3 separate regions of the Homo sapiens genome follow, and regions 2 and 3 are each linked to region 1. Evidence: promoter capture Hi-C in 16 types of primary human blood cells and fetal thymus (Javierre and others, 2016). All regions are on one chromosome and are shown on one strand. Each heading gives the region's core, a stretch centred on a gene start or on the middle of the fragment in contact. The rest is flanking DNA. Distances are from core to core; before and after follow the strand shown. Region 1 holds the start of SLC25A51 (solute carrier family 25 member 51). Region 2 holds the start of ANKRD18A (ankyrin repeat domain 18A). Region 3 overlaps LOC105376041 (a long non-coding RNA gene).

Evidence for each region. The method cuts DNA at HindIII sites, captures the fragments that hold promoters and counts their contacts. A CHiCAGO score of 5 or more calls a contact.
Region 2: a contact is called between the fragment with the promoter of ANKRD18A here and the fragment with the promoter of SLC25A51 in region 1, in 5 of 17 cell types (activated CD4 T cells, total CD4 T cells, total CD8 T cells and 2 more). The highest score is 11.7, in activated CD4 T cells.
Region 3: a fragment that was not itself captured here is called in contact with the fragment with the promoter of SLC25A51 in region 1 in 8 of 17 cell types (naive CD8 T cells, megakaryocytes, naive B cells and 5 more); the score reaches 7.7 in naive CD8 T cells.

What each region holds. Positions count from the first base shown.
Region 1 is chr9:37,901,606-37,905,947 of GRCh38, reverse strand. It overlaps SLC25A51 (solute carrier family 25 member 51), which reads left to right and starts at 1,821. Exons shown (of 3, transcript NM_033412.4): 1 at 1,821-1,880. It also overlaps the pseudogene PAICSP1. RefSeq lists a silencer at 1,621-2,380. The HindIII fragment of the contact is 4,581 bases long and covers 1-3,178 here.
Region 2 is chr9:38,618,690-38,623,031 of GRCh38, reverse strand. It overlaps ANKRD18A (ankyrin repeat domain 18A), which reads left to right and starts at 2,436. Exons shown (of 16, transcript NM_147195.4): 1 at 2,436-2,952. The coding sequence starts at 2,747. FAM201A (family with sequence similarity 201 member A) reads right to left here and starts at 1,944. Exons shown (of 2, transcript NR_027294.1): 1 at 1,667-1,944; 2 at 1-1,200. RefSeq lists enhancers at 809-1,018, 1,671-1,790. The HindIII fragment of the contact is 5,020 bases long and covers 333-4,342 here.
Region 3 is chr9:38,439,007-38,443,348 of GRCh38, reverse strand. The region is part of intron 4 of LOC105376041 (a long non-coding RNA gene); the gene reads right to left. Among named protein-coding and RNA genes, the nearest start is that of IGFBPL1, 17 kb to the right of the region's middle. RefSeq lists an enhancer at 1-157. The HindIII fragment of the contact is 854 bases long and covers 1,694-2,547 here.

The DNA of each region.
Region 1 (4,342 bases), core at 572-3,071:
AATAGAGGGTTTTCATCCCCAACATTCATATGCCCAAGAAGAGCCAATGAAGGGCCTGGGGGTTTCTGACAAGGAACTAAGAGCTGGAGGGGCAGAGGACTGTGCTGTGGCCTGCAGCAGCATAAAAGAAGCAGACTGGGCTCAGCTCCAGACCTCAGTTTTCCCGTTAGCCTGGGATTTTCTGAGTCTGGTGTGCCCCAATTGTGTGTTTAATTTCAGTCTTTTCCTTCTTGTTCAGGTTTTACCGCAGGAGAATAACCTCTCCATTCTAATCTGAAATTAATTATTTATGCTTATGAACACGCTGGATGCCTGCCTGGTTTATTTATTTTTCAAATAATGCATCTGAATAGGCATTCACACAAGACAGGGCAAACATAATTTTGAGGCAAAGGCCCTTTCCAACTGTTGCCCGATTAACTGTTCTAAGCCATTGTGTAGCCTTGTCCTTATCCTGCGGAGTCCAAAATTTATCCCTCGCGTACTAATTAGATGGCAGGTGTCTGTGTCTGACAGTCAAGATTCGCATTATCCAGCCCCACCACCTGACCCTTACAATCTTATCTCCTGCTGCTATGACTTTCTCCACTGGGCCAAATTCCACTCATCCATCCTCCAAGGCCCAGTTCAAACGTCTGCTCTGTGAAGCCATCTCTGGTTCTCCCTCGAGGGGGGAGGTCCCCTCATGCTTCTGAATTTCCAGTCTTTTGTTGTTGTATCCTTCATCAGACGCTAAGCTCCCCAGGACCTGGCACGCAGTAGGTTCCTCAATGGAGCGTTTGCTGGAATGGGGGAGGGTGGTCTCCAGCTTCCCGAGAGGCACCTAAGCACGCCAGCCAAAGTGGGGCTGGGCAGAGACCAGACCCGCTTTTGGAGTCAGTGTCTACAAAGTGCTCTCGGGGGAAGGGGGCACGCGGGGAACGTCGCCCACCCGGAGCCGATCCCCCCAAGAACGCTTCACTCGGGTGGGGTTACTGCTTGGGCTCGCCCCAAGCACAGTGCGCACACTTCACACATCCGCAAGCCTCCTGAAACGCCTCTCCCCTCAGGCCGACCTTTCTGTTTCCTTCAACGCCTCCCATCTGTTGTGTGCGTTCCAGTTTCCAACTCAGAGTCAGAACCATCATTTCCAAAGACTCCTGCAACAGCCCGAGGACGCATACAAGGCATGGGTTACTTTTCAGACGGAGATTTGGGGCTCAGGGTCCAGCGACTCACCCAAGGTCACTCTCAAGAAGTATGAGGGCTATGACTTTGACCCAAGCCTTCTAACTCCCCGGGCAGCGCTCCTCCCAAGCCCCCCGCAAGCTGTCTGAGCTTCAAAGGAAAAAGTTTAAAAGTGATCCATACGTCCCAAAGCACGCACAAAGCGTTCTTCTGTAAACTGCGGCATGGGTCGCTGATAAAAGGTCCCTCTGAAGGTTTGAAGATACTCAACAAGGCTCCACAGAGGGTACTTTGGAGTTTTCCGCGAAGGCGCTCGCCCCGCAGAACCGACAAGGCCCCTAAAACCGACAATGCCCAGACGCCCCCTGCAGGCAGCGCGCTAGAGAACGCGTTGGCTGTTTCTGGCACGCTGAGGCCACCGTACGGCATCAAGGGTGAAGCATGGTGGCTAGCGGAGCCCGCATCCTGACAGGTGTGCTGGCGTGGCCCTCTACCTGCCCCGCCGCGGCGGCCTGCGGCCAGGAGAAGTAGGCTGGCGACATCTGGCGGGCCGCGGGCCGAGGGAGGGGAGGCGGGGCGGGGCGGTGTCTCCCTCACGTGACCCCAACAGCGCCCAGCGCGTCGCGCTGCGCCCCAACCTCGGGGTCGGTCACAGTCTGCGCCTGCGCGGGCCCCGGCTCGCTAGCCGTCCTGCGGGACGCCGGCGCTGATGGGTGAGTGTGGGACGAGCGTGGGGAAGCACCGGGCTTTCTTCGCATGAGGTTGGAGGGAGGGGAAACGCGCTGAAGGGCCCGCTGGGGCAGGCTGCCGCCCTGGGGGCCCATCCCTGTCTTCTGCGCGCTCCGGCTGCCCTGGCCCGGTCCCTGCGGGCCCCACCCAGGCGGCGCGGGCGGAATCAGTTCTGAGCCTCCTCGGCTCCGGGCTCCCCCGCCTGCCGCGGGTGTTTGTCCGGCTGCTGGGCGACCTTTCCCGCGAAGGCGCTGTCCCTTCATTCGGGCGCGCCCTGGGCTGGGGAGGCACCTCCCTGGTGCACAGGAACCGCAGGGGCGGGGAGGAGCCGGGAGCTGCCTGCGCCCGGGGGACAGCGGGGATGGCACCGCGCAAGGGCCTCTGCGTCCCGGGAGACTGGGATTTCGGCCTCACCTCGGGACCCCTGACTGTGAAGTGTCAGAAACGGAAGAGGACTTAGTGATCTTGTCCAACCCCCTCCCCGCCTTTCACAGGTTGGGGAAATGGACGCCTGGAGAACGGTAAGTTCAGCTACATAGCCTGGCAGTGCTTGTTCTGCGACAGCATATTGCATCGCGTTGTAGGAAGCTCACTTGTACAAGGATTTTCGGGGACGATGGTGTTGGTGGTGTTAGTCTCCATCCATTATTTGGTGTTCAGTTTAGCTAGATGGAGTATGTCAGCACCTCAACTTCCTGCAAAACCTTTGTTTTGCATCTCACAGCTCTACCTAGCTGATCTTAATTCCCACCTTCTGTTTTTCTCTACTTGTAATCTCTGAAACAGAAGCCCTTGAAATGTATAGTGACCTTGCCATTTTGAGCCGCCTCTGCCCGTGCTTTGAAAGGATTCCATAGGATCAAAAGGTGCTAGGACTCTTGAGGTCCCATAGTGGTTTAGAGCACAGGTTACCGCTTTGGAACTGGAATCACCCTTAGCGCATCTCAGGGGAAAACAAGCTAGGAGTTGACTCATCTGATCTCTCGTTTGGTAAATGAAAGCAAACTCAGATCAGTGGATTTTAAAATCAGATATTGCTTTGTCTTTATATTGGCAAGCTAGTGTCGTAACTAGGACTAGACCCAGGCTGATCTTGTTCTGAATGCTGACTCAGACCTGCTGACTAGTGGAAATTCACATCCTTTGAGAATTGGAGTCACCCTCTCCCCAGTTTTTGCAGAGACCTTTGTGCTAGGATCATATCTGTATCATGCTGATCCATGTAGGCTGTAAATTATAATAAGGTTTTAGACTTTACACTGTTTTCTTAGTCACAGAAGCTTGACACTTGTAGTTGCTTGAAAATCAAGTTCATTAACTGCTCCCTTATGATGAGATAGTTTTACGTAGCAAACAAGCGTAAAGTTATGGTAAATAAATTTTGCAATAAATTGCAAAGAATTATCCACATTAATGAATAAAAATATAAAGATCAGTTTAGCAAAGAAATTTAACCATGTTCACAGTATAGGTAAACATGCAAAAGTCTAAACTGTACTACCAAATAATGCTGTGCACATTATCCTTCTATTGCTAAATTAAGAACATATTCACACCATCCTGGTGTGTAGGATTAAACTAGAGAAAAAGCTTTAAATCTGTAAAGTCCAGGAGGGTTTCATAACATTTTTTCCCCCATCTAGGCCTATTTTTTAAATCTGAGAATCTCAATGTACAGTAATGTTCTTAAAATAGTTGGATATGGTGGTCAATAAATGGTTAACTTCTGTTAGCTGTAGTTTTCTGCTTGTTTAATAACAGTCCCCATTCTCACACAGAGTCATAAATAAACTAACCTTTATTTGCAAAATTTCAGAAAGTAATACAAGTAACATTCCAGTAAAAGTGAACATGGACAAAATTTTTATTGTTGTTCAAGTACACAAATAACTTGGCTTGTACTGTCAAGGAGCATGTGTAAACAGCTTGTAGGTGGTGACTTTAGAATTTAAAATATTTTGTGTGCTCCGTATGTAAAAATAAAATGGTTTTGACATTCATAAATTGTCACAATATCATGTAATCATGTACATTAATCTAAATATTCTTGTTGATTTAACATTGTTTAATTCTGAAACTGAAGAAGTGCAAAGCATTACATAGGTATCAAGCATTTCTAGACTAAGTTTTAGGACTTCAAATATTGATTAATCTTAGCTTGTAAGTGTACTAATAAGAGTTTTTAACTCATACCTATCAGCTGAATCAGTAAAAAGTAAGGATGTAGTAGAACTAATAATTATCAAACTCAATACCCTAACAGACTTCAGTGTCTAGAACATATCTTGAAGTTAATCATATTAAGCCCCAAAACTCTGTACATTAAGAAAGGGAGAGGAGAGAGGGAACAGATGATATTCTGGAACCTTTTTTTTCCCTTTAATCTTATTTTTACTGTGAATAACAACACTAGACTCACTGAAGATTTTGGGACACTTACTAGCAA
Region 2 (4,342 bases), core at 1,187-3,686, 720 kb before region 1:
GTAAAATAACAAAAGGGATATTTAGGTAACTTTGGGTTTGGCAATTACTTTGTAGATACAACAGTAAAGTACATAAAAGACAAATTTCTACCATGAAAGAAGATATTGGTATGAAGTCGTTACAATTAAAAACTTTTGCTCTGGGAAAGGAAATAAGAGAATGGAGAAACAAGCCACAGACGGAGAAAATATTTGCAAAACACCTGTCTGGCATCCAGACCATTAAAAACCACTTACAACTCAACAATAAGAAATCGAACAACCCAATTAGTAAATGGACGAAAGATCTAAAGAGGCTCCCATCAGAGATGGCATATAGAAGGGGAAAAGCTTATGAAAAGATGTTTGCCCTCCCAACGCTTTTCCCTCCCTGCGTCCCTCTCCCTCACACACCCTCCGCTGCAGCGGAGTGGGAGCGGGTCAGGGGCGCTAGGCGGTGACGGTGACGGTGACGTGCTGTCTCTCGGGCGAGGCGTGGGATTTAAGCGCATTATAAGCCGTGGGTCCCGGGGAATCCGAGAGGCTGAGCTTGGAGCCCAGACTGACCCGCCTCTCTCATGGTCCCGGCCCACTGCCCTGCAGAGCCCGCCTTACTCTTCCTCTCCACAGGTCTGCTGTGGCTCCACCAAGCCTGGTAGGCCCACAAGGAGCTGCATCCAGCAGGAGCCGCCGCCCGGGAACAAGCTACCCGCGGGCTCTGGGGACAACCGCCCGTCTGATGAGCTCGGCTGAGCGTGCACGCAATGTCGAAATCAAGGACGCCTGGATGCTTTTCATGGCAGAGTGACAAAAGTTTACCAACAAGAAGAGGAGCAGGGCTGCTGAAAGGTGCGGTGCCGCGGCGCCAGAATGCGGGATCCTGAGCCCTGCATGCGAGTCTTCGCGGGGCCGATCGCTGCGAGCCTCGCTTAGGTCCAGCCGCCTCCAGGGAGGGCAATATCCACGAGACGCGGGGAGTGAGGGCGGTGCTGGCCGCACCCCTGGTCCTGGGGCCGCGGGAGCCGTGCTAGCAGGCCGCCTTCCACTGCCGCCTGCGCCGGGTCGGGTTGCTGCAGCGGTGCCCGCTGCAGGAGCTCCGCGCCTGCTGCTTCTCCGACGTCAGGGCGCCGCCAGGATGACAGGTGCAGGAGGCTGCGGCTGTGGGCAGATGTGGTTTCCAGCCCCAGGTCCCGGCGGCCCCTGGCTTCCCAGCCCGCTGTCCTGTGGGCAAGAAGATGAAGAAAGTCACCCCATCAGCAGGTCAGCTGCCCCGCCTGGCAGCCCAGCCAGACAAGGCAACCGAAGTTCATCCTGTCTGAGTTGACTTTGTGCAGGCAGCGGGCCGGCGCCCAGGATGCTGGGGAGCCCTGCGCGCCGGAGGCCGACAAGCCGTGGGGCCCAGAGGCGCCACAGGGCGAGAAGGCACCCGCCTCCCAGCGCTTTCACCCCCCGGCCCGCCCGACCCGCTAGGTGTAGCAGTGGCTGCGGCCAAGCCAGGCATTCTGCCCGGCGGCGGCTGCACAGGGGCGAAAACTGAGAACCCCTGCTCAACCCCATCCGGAGTGACTGCCAAGTGCCCATGCCAGCGACCCCGATCCCCCTCCGGTGGAGGAATGGGCGGGAGGCACGGCCTGGGGGCCCTCAGGCTGGGCGCGCTGGCGATCCCGAGGCCGACCAGGCCATGCACCTCCAGCCCGCCTGGGCACCCAAGCTGCATCCGCCTTCTGTGTGCAGGCAGCAGCCTCCAGGCAACCCCCGAGCCCGCCAGCACTCCCCACATCTCAGAACCGGGGCCAGATGTCCCTGTGGCTGCGGCTGAGCTAGGTGGTCTGCCCTGCAGCGGGAACCGGCTCTCAGCCCCATTCCCCGTGGCTGCAGAGGGCCACTGGCTAGAGGTCCCGAGCTTCAGCAGACGAGGAGCCGAGCAGGGGCAGGGCCTGGCGGGCTCTCAGGCCAGGTGCACTCGCGATCCAGAGGCCGCCTAGGCCGTGCTCCACCACCTGGGCGCCCAAGCTGCAGGCGCCCTCTACCTGCTGGCGACAGCTGCCTGGCAACTCCCAAGATGGCTGGCGCTCCCAGCCTGGCAGAACCGGGGCTACATGTCGCCCTGGCTGCGGCCAAGCCAGGCGGTCTACCCGGCGGCGGCTGCACCGGGACAGGAACCGACCCCCCAGTCCCATCCCCGGTGGCTGCGGAGGGCCCCTGTCAGCGGCCCCGATCTCTCTTCGGAGGAGGAGCGGGTCGGGAGTCAGGGCCAGGCAGGCCCTCAGGCGGGAAGGGATGCACTCCTGGGATTCCGGGACGTCCCGCGGGAGCCCAGGAGAACCCGCAAGCCAGCGACGCGTGCGCCCGTGCTGCAGGTGCCCCCTGCCGGCCACGAGGGCTTGGGAGCGGCTTCCGGAGTCCCGGCTGGCGCTGAGTTGTAGGCGCGCGCCTAACTGGCATCGCGGGGACTCACTCGGTCTGAGAGTTCGGAGCGCTGAGGTTCAGGCGCGCGCCTAACGGCTTAGCTGGGCTCACTCGGTCTGAGAGGTCGGAGTCTGCGAGTGTCGCTGCTGAAGGCTGTGGTGGACCGGGCTGGATCGCGGATTCTGAGCTACATTGCGGGTTTGGGGGTGGATCTTGGATTTGGGGGTGGATCGCGGGTTGCGGGGGGGATCGCGGGTTGCGGGGGAGATCGCGGATTTGGGGCGGAGTGGGGGTGGAAAGGCCACGAGGAGCCGCCGCGGCTCAGGAGCGGGTGGTGGGCGTCTGAGAAGTCGCCACCATGAGGAAGCTCTTCAGCTTCGGGAGACGCCTGGGCCAGGCGCTCCTGAGCTCCATGGACCAAGAGTATGCGGGTCCGGGTTACGACATTCGGGACTGGGAACTGCGGAAGATCCACAGGGCTGCCATCAAGGGCGACGCCGCGGAGGTGGAGCGCTGCCTGACGCGCAGGTTCCGGGACTTGGACGCCCGCGACAGAAAAGACAGGTAGCTCGGGGACTCAGCCCGCGGTGGGAGGGGGCCGCAGGCCCGGCTTCCCTGCAGCCCGGCAGCCCCTGGGGCGGGGACCTTGGAGGGCGCCGGGCACCCTCGGAGCAGCGGAGCCAAATGGAGCCTCAGCTGCTTTCCGTCGCTGGCAATTCCCCGTCCGTCGCGCTTGGTGGAAAATTTGAGTGATTTAACTCACAAAGTTAGGCATATCCACGTTTAAAACATGGGGCCATATACATGATAGGGAGGTGCCTAATGAGAACTCATTCCCCTGTCAAAAATACCATGAGCCTTTTTCAGTAGGCGAAGAGTTCTCAGATAAAACCCTGTGTCGGTTTTACATCCGAATCCACCTAGGTAGACAGGTTCTTTACTGGAGCTTCTTAGAGGGACACTGGGAAGCGCGAGGTGGGTTCCTTGAATGGGAAGACTCAGTTTTCTCAAAATATGAACTGTTTCCATGTTTATCAGTTTTACATAAACTGAATGAAGATATCAAGGTTTTATCATTTTTGCATGACACTTGCTATCTATCTTACCATTGTGATGACATTTAAAAATGTTTATAATGGAGTGAAAAGACTTGCTCCTCTAGATATCAAAATGTGCTATTAATTCCCACAATTAATTATTTACTAACAGCTGAAAACACAGATAAATAAATGGAACAGAACAGGAAATCCAAAAACACTGAAATATATGTAAGATATATACATAGGGATGGATAATGGTAACGTTTCAGATGAGTAGGAAAAGATGAGTTATTAATAAAATGCCTGCTGTGTGAAGAAAACTAATGAAACTTTATGTCGCAAAAATGGGTTCCTGATGGAATTCAGACTGAAATTTTTACACATGCAAAATGAGAAAAAGTACCAGAAGAAAACGCAAAGACTTATTTATACAGGTACATTTTATGTTAACAAAGGCCTTCGTAAGAATGACCTCGCAAGCAGGCATTCTGAAAGTTGATTTAGCAAACTAAAAATTAAAATCCCCTGTGTATCAGAAAAAAATTAACAAAAGATAACACACTCGAAAAATATTTCCTATATATATTTTTACTAATATATAAAAATATATATTCAGATGAAAAGTGTATCTTCATCCTACAGGGAATTTATTCTTTATTATATATAATACATATTACTGATTATATGTATAAGAAATTGTATATATTACTAATATAATGTGTTATATATATATATCAGTTATATATATACAGATAAAAAGCACATCTTTATTTTACAGGGAATTCTTTCCAATCAAATCCACAAGAAAAGAACTCTAGAAGTGAGCAAAGCACTTTTTGCAGATTCACAAGTTACTTATGTACATAGGAAAAAATCCTTAGTGTTTCTCATAAGATAAGTTAAAAGAGGAGTGA
Region 3 (4,342 bases), core at 871-3,370, 540 kb before region 1:
GCTCAGACCTTATCGCCTCTCTGGGCCCTCCTCCTCGCTCCTCCCTGACCCAAAGTCATTCCCTCCTCCCTCCCACTTCTCCTCTCCCAGCCCCACTGAACTTGGCTGAGGGTCCTCTCTAGCACTCATCACATCTTCTTCATGCTATAGGGACGCCTTTCACATCTCATCTCTCGCTTTCCAGTTGTGAGGTTTTCAAAAGCTAGAAACACGTTTTATTCAACTGTGAATTCCAGCCGTCCCTTACCCAACCCCTACCCTGAGCTTCTGGACTTCAGACAAGGTACATAATAAATCCAAGTAAGTGCTTGCTGAATGAATGAGTGAGTGAAGGAAGGAAGGAAGGAAGGAAGGAGAGAATGCAGGAAGGGCAGGTGCCAGGGAGACATACACTCTGCACTGTGTGTACTTGGCCTGCATATGGCTGAGCTGTCTCCTGGCCCCTCATCCACTCGAAGTAGTGGAATCACAGACTAGCACCCACCCACGGGAAGTGTGAATGCCTCTGCACTCTCTGTCACTCTCCCTCCCCACAGGGCAGCCCTGAAGCTCCATTTGGGCACTGTCAGGGGTAGGAACCCTGTACCTCCCAGGCCGACCCTGCCATCTTGCTAAGTGAGCCAGGCTCAGTGGAAAAGCGTGGGCTTTGGAGCCAGGAAGACCATGAGAGTGAGTCCCAGCTCCACCACGCGCCAGCTGTGTGACTGTGGGCAAGCTGTGCCCCTCTCTGGGTCTTACTCTTCTCATCCTGAAAATGGATCCAGTGTCCCCCTTCCAGGGCTCTGTGTGGATGAGATACTATGAGAGTCGAGTGCCTGGCCTCATGCCCAAAGAGCAGTGCTTCTTTTCTCAATCTTTTCCCCGCTTTTGGACAGCTCTGACAAAAGAAAGGTGTTTTTCCTTTCACAGAACTGAAAGGGGACTGCCAGTGGTTGCGTTTCTACCCCCTCGGAGCCTGGACCCTGTCTGCTCCTCTGTCCCCAGAGCATCTGGTAAACAGTGGCGACCTCTCCCATTCCCCACAGGCTCTGCCTTCCATCCCCCAGCCCCAGTCCAGTGCCATGCATGGCTGTGCTCAGCCGAGCTGGCATCCCTGGCCTTCTGCTAGGGCTGAAAGTGCCAAGGACTCCACTACCTTTGGGCCCCTGACCGTGCAGTGAATTGCAGTCCCCACCTGGTTAACCAGGAGCCAGAGCGGCTGCCCATGCCTGGCCCCATGACCAATCTTACCCTTCCCTACTGCAGAAAGACTGACCCAAAGCCCAGCACCTTTGCCTAGCATGGGCCAGGTGCCCTCCTGAGCCACCGACCTCCTTTGAAGCCCTCATGTGAAGAGGCCCAGTCAGGAAAATCCACTTTGAGTCCATCCCAGCTCTGCTGCTAAGCACTGTGGCTCCTTAGGCTCAGGGGCCCCATAGGTCTCTGTTTGCTCACTTCTGAATTGAGGGGATGGGATGGACTGCTTGGGACACGGCCCAGTTTCACAGCCACCTGTCTACTGTTTGGAGCTAACTTTTCATAGGCCTGTGTACCCCACTGGATGGGGAGCTCTTCGAGGGCAGAGGCCCTTCTCATTTAGCTCCCTGTACCCAGCTCCTGCCCATACCTCTGGCAACAGTTGGCACTCACTCATGTTTCCTAAACGGGTGGATGGAAAGCTAACATCCCTCGAGGGTCTACTATGTGCCAAGCTTTGTTTTAAACATTTAGTATGTTTACCACCTCGTTTCATCCTCACAACAGCCCTATGGGAAAGGTACATTATCACCCCATTTCACAGATGAGGAAACTGAGGCACTGAAAGATCTAGAATGTTGTCCAAACTTACACAGCTAGCAAGTTGGGGAGCCAGGCATTGAATGCTAACAATCTGGATGATCGTAAAAGAACTCTCTGACTGCCGAGTTTTGATTTCAATATAATTTTCAGCTCCTATGGCCAGGGCAGTCTGGGCTCTCTCAGAATCAAGATGAGAGAATGGCAGGGGCTTGTGTAGGTTTGAGAACAAACTTCTGTATCAGATCACTTGTACACCACTTTAAGAATTCCCTGGAGAAAGCAGAATTCTTTTCAAAAATGAAATCCAGGCAGGGTGGTGGCTCGAGCCTATAATCCCAGCACTTTGGGAGGCTGACGGGGGAGGATCGCTTGAGCCTAGGAGTTCGAGACCAACCAAGGAAACACAAGGAGACCCCCATCTCTACAAAAAATAAAAGGCTTAGCTGGGCTTAGAGGTGCATGTCTATGGTCCCAGCTATTCAGGAGGCTGAGGTGGGGGGATCACCTGGGCCAGGGAGACCAAGGCTGCAGTGAGCTGTGATTGCACCACTGCACTCCAGCCTGGGTGACGAGTGAGGCTCTGTCTCAAACAAAAACACAAAAATGAAAACTGTGATGAAATAATAGGCTGCCTAGGAGAGGAGGAGGGGATGGGGGAGTATCAATGAAACAAGATTGGCCATGTGTTGACAGTTGTTGAAGCTGGCAGTTCATGATACTATTCCCTTTTCTTTTGCATGGGTTTGCATATTTCCATAATAAAAAGCTTAAATTTTTAAAATAAAATAAGAGGAAGTCCATGACTACCATAAACCCACATAAGTTTGCTGACTGTCTTTCTGGTTGTTTCCCGGTTTCTCCTTTTCCCCTGCAGGCCTGCCTCTGACAGCACCTCAGAGTGTCACATGCGGCCCCGCTGCCTTTCTCTCTTTGTGTGTTGGCTTGTCTCTATGTCTGCCACTTTCTGTGACCTTCTGAGAATCAAGGAAAAGTTCTGCAATCAAGCCCACACATAAACATCCCATTTTTATTTCATTTTCTCCCAGAGCCTCTCTCTTTCTTCTCTGTATGTCCAAATCTCTGTTCTCGTTGTGTTTGCCTTGACTTCTCCATTCATTTTGACCTTGCTGTATGGCTGGCTAGGAATGGTCAGCTCTGGCTGGTACCCCGGACATTAGAAAATGTGCATGGAGGGTATTTTCATGCATGTCTGAAAAGTTCAGAGAGTGCTACCACAAAAAAAATTGGTTGTTGAAGAAGACAAAAACTTTTCTTTTCTACCTCCTTTCTTTCTTAACTGTCTAATAAAGCCATACTCTTTTTCATTTCTTTTCACTTAATAAAAATAACAATAATAATAGCCATTGTTTATTGAATGTGTGCTGTGTGCTGGGCATTTGGATAAGGTTCTTATAGTTATTGTCTCATTTAACCCTTCACAACCTGTGTAACATGTATTCCCACTTCACGGATGAGAAAACTGAGGCTTCAGAGAGGTTAAGTAAAAGCCCAAAGTCACTTAGCTAGAGGCTGGCAGAGCTGGAGTTTGAACCCTTCTTATATTTTCCAAAGAGGAAACATATTCAGGCACTACAATGACATTAAGACATTGATAAAGGTTTCATGTCTGGGGTCCTTAGTGGGGACAGTGACACCCCTCCCCCACCCCTCACTGGTAGACAAATCTGAACTACATGCTCAGGCTGGGCCCTGCCCTGTGAGAAGGACCCTGACCAGCTGAACCATACCCAGGAAGAGGACCGTGATGGAGAGGGGGCCCTGAGAAGGATGGGTAGAAGCTCTCAGGGGCATGGTGCTGACTTCAAAGGAACATCAAGGGTCCAAGGGGCACAGCTGGCACCAAAAGGTAAGCCACATGCTCTGGGTCCATCCTGGACTTTCCCTCTAATTCCAGACCACAAGGCCAATTGTCAGCCTCCTGGTTATCTGTCTCTGGATGTCCCATGGGCACCCCAGTCGAACATGCCCCATCTGAACACCCCAACTTCCTGCTCCTCCCCTGGCATCCTCATCTCAGGAGTGGCACCACCCCCAACCCATTCATCCAAGTCAGGGACCCAAAGTCATCCTCCACTCCTTCCTCTCCAATCCCTGCCAAATCCAGACACATCTCTCCAACCTGACAGCCACCACCTTCGTCTAGGCCACTGTCCCCTTTGTCTGGACTATCTCAGTAGCCTCCTGCTTGGGCTCCTACCTCCTAACCATTTTCCATCCTGTGACCAGAGGGATCTTCCTAAAAATCCTCCTCTTAGCCTTTCCCTTCTCCCAGCCCAAGGGGCCAGCTGGAGACAGGGAGGAAAGGAAAAATGCTCTCAGACCTTCCAGTTCCAGTCTTTGCCCACCTCTGGCTGCCTCCTGTGCTCCCTGTCCACTGGTCTTGCAAGCCGTCCCTCTGGTCTGTTTCCAGCCTCAGGTCTTTTCCATCCACTGCACTCAGGCTCCCTCCTTCTTCCCGTGGGTGGGATTCTGGGAATCTCCTTTCCCAAGTGACTCTTATTATCCCTGTTGGTGTTTTCTTTTTTTTTTAAATTTTATTATT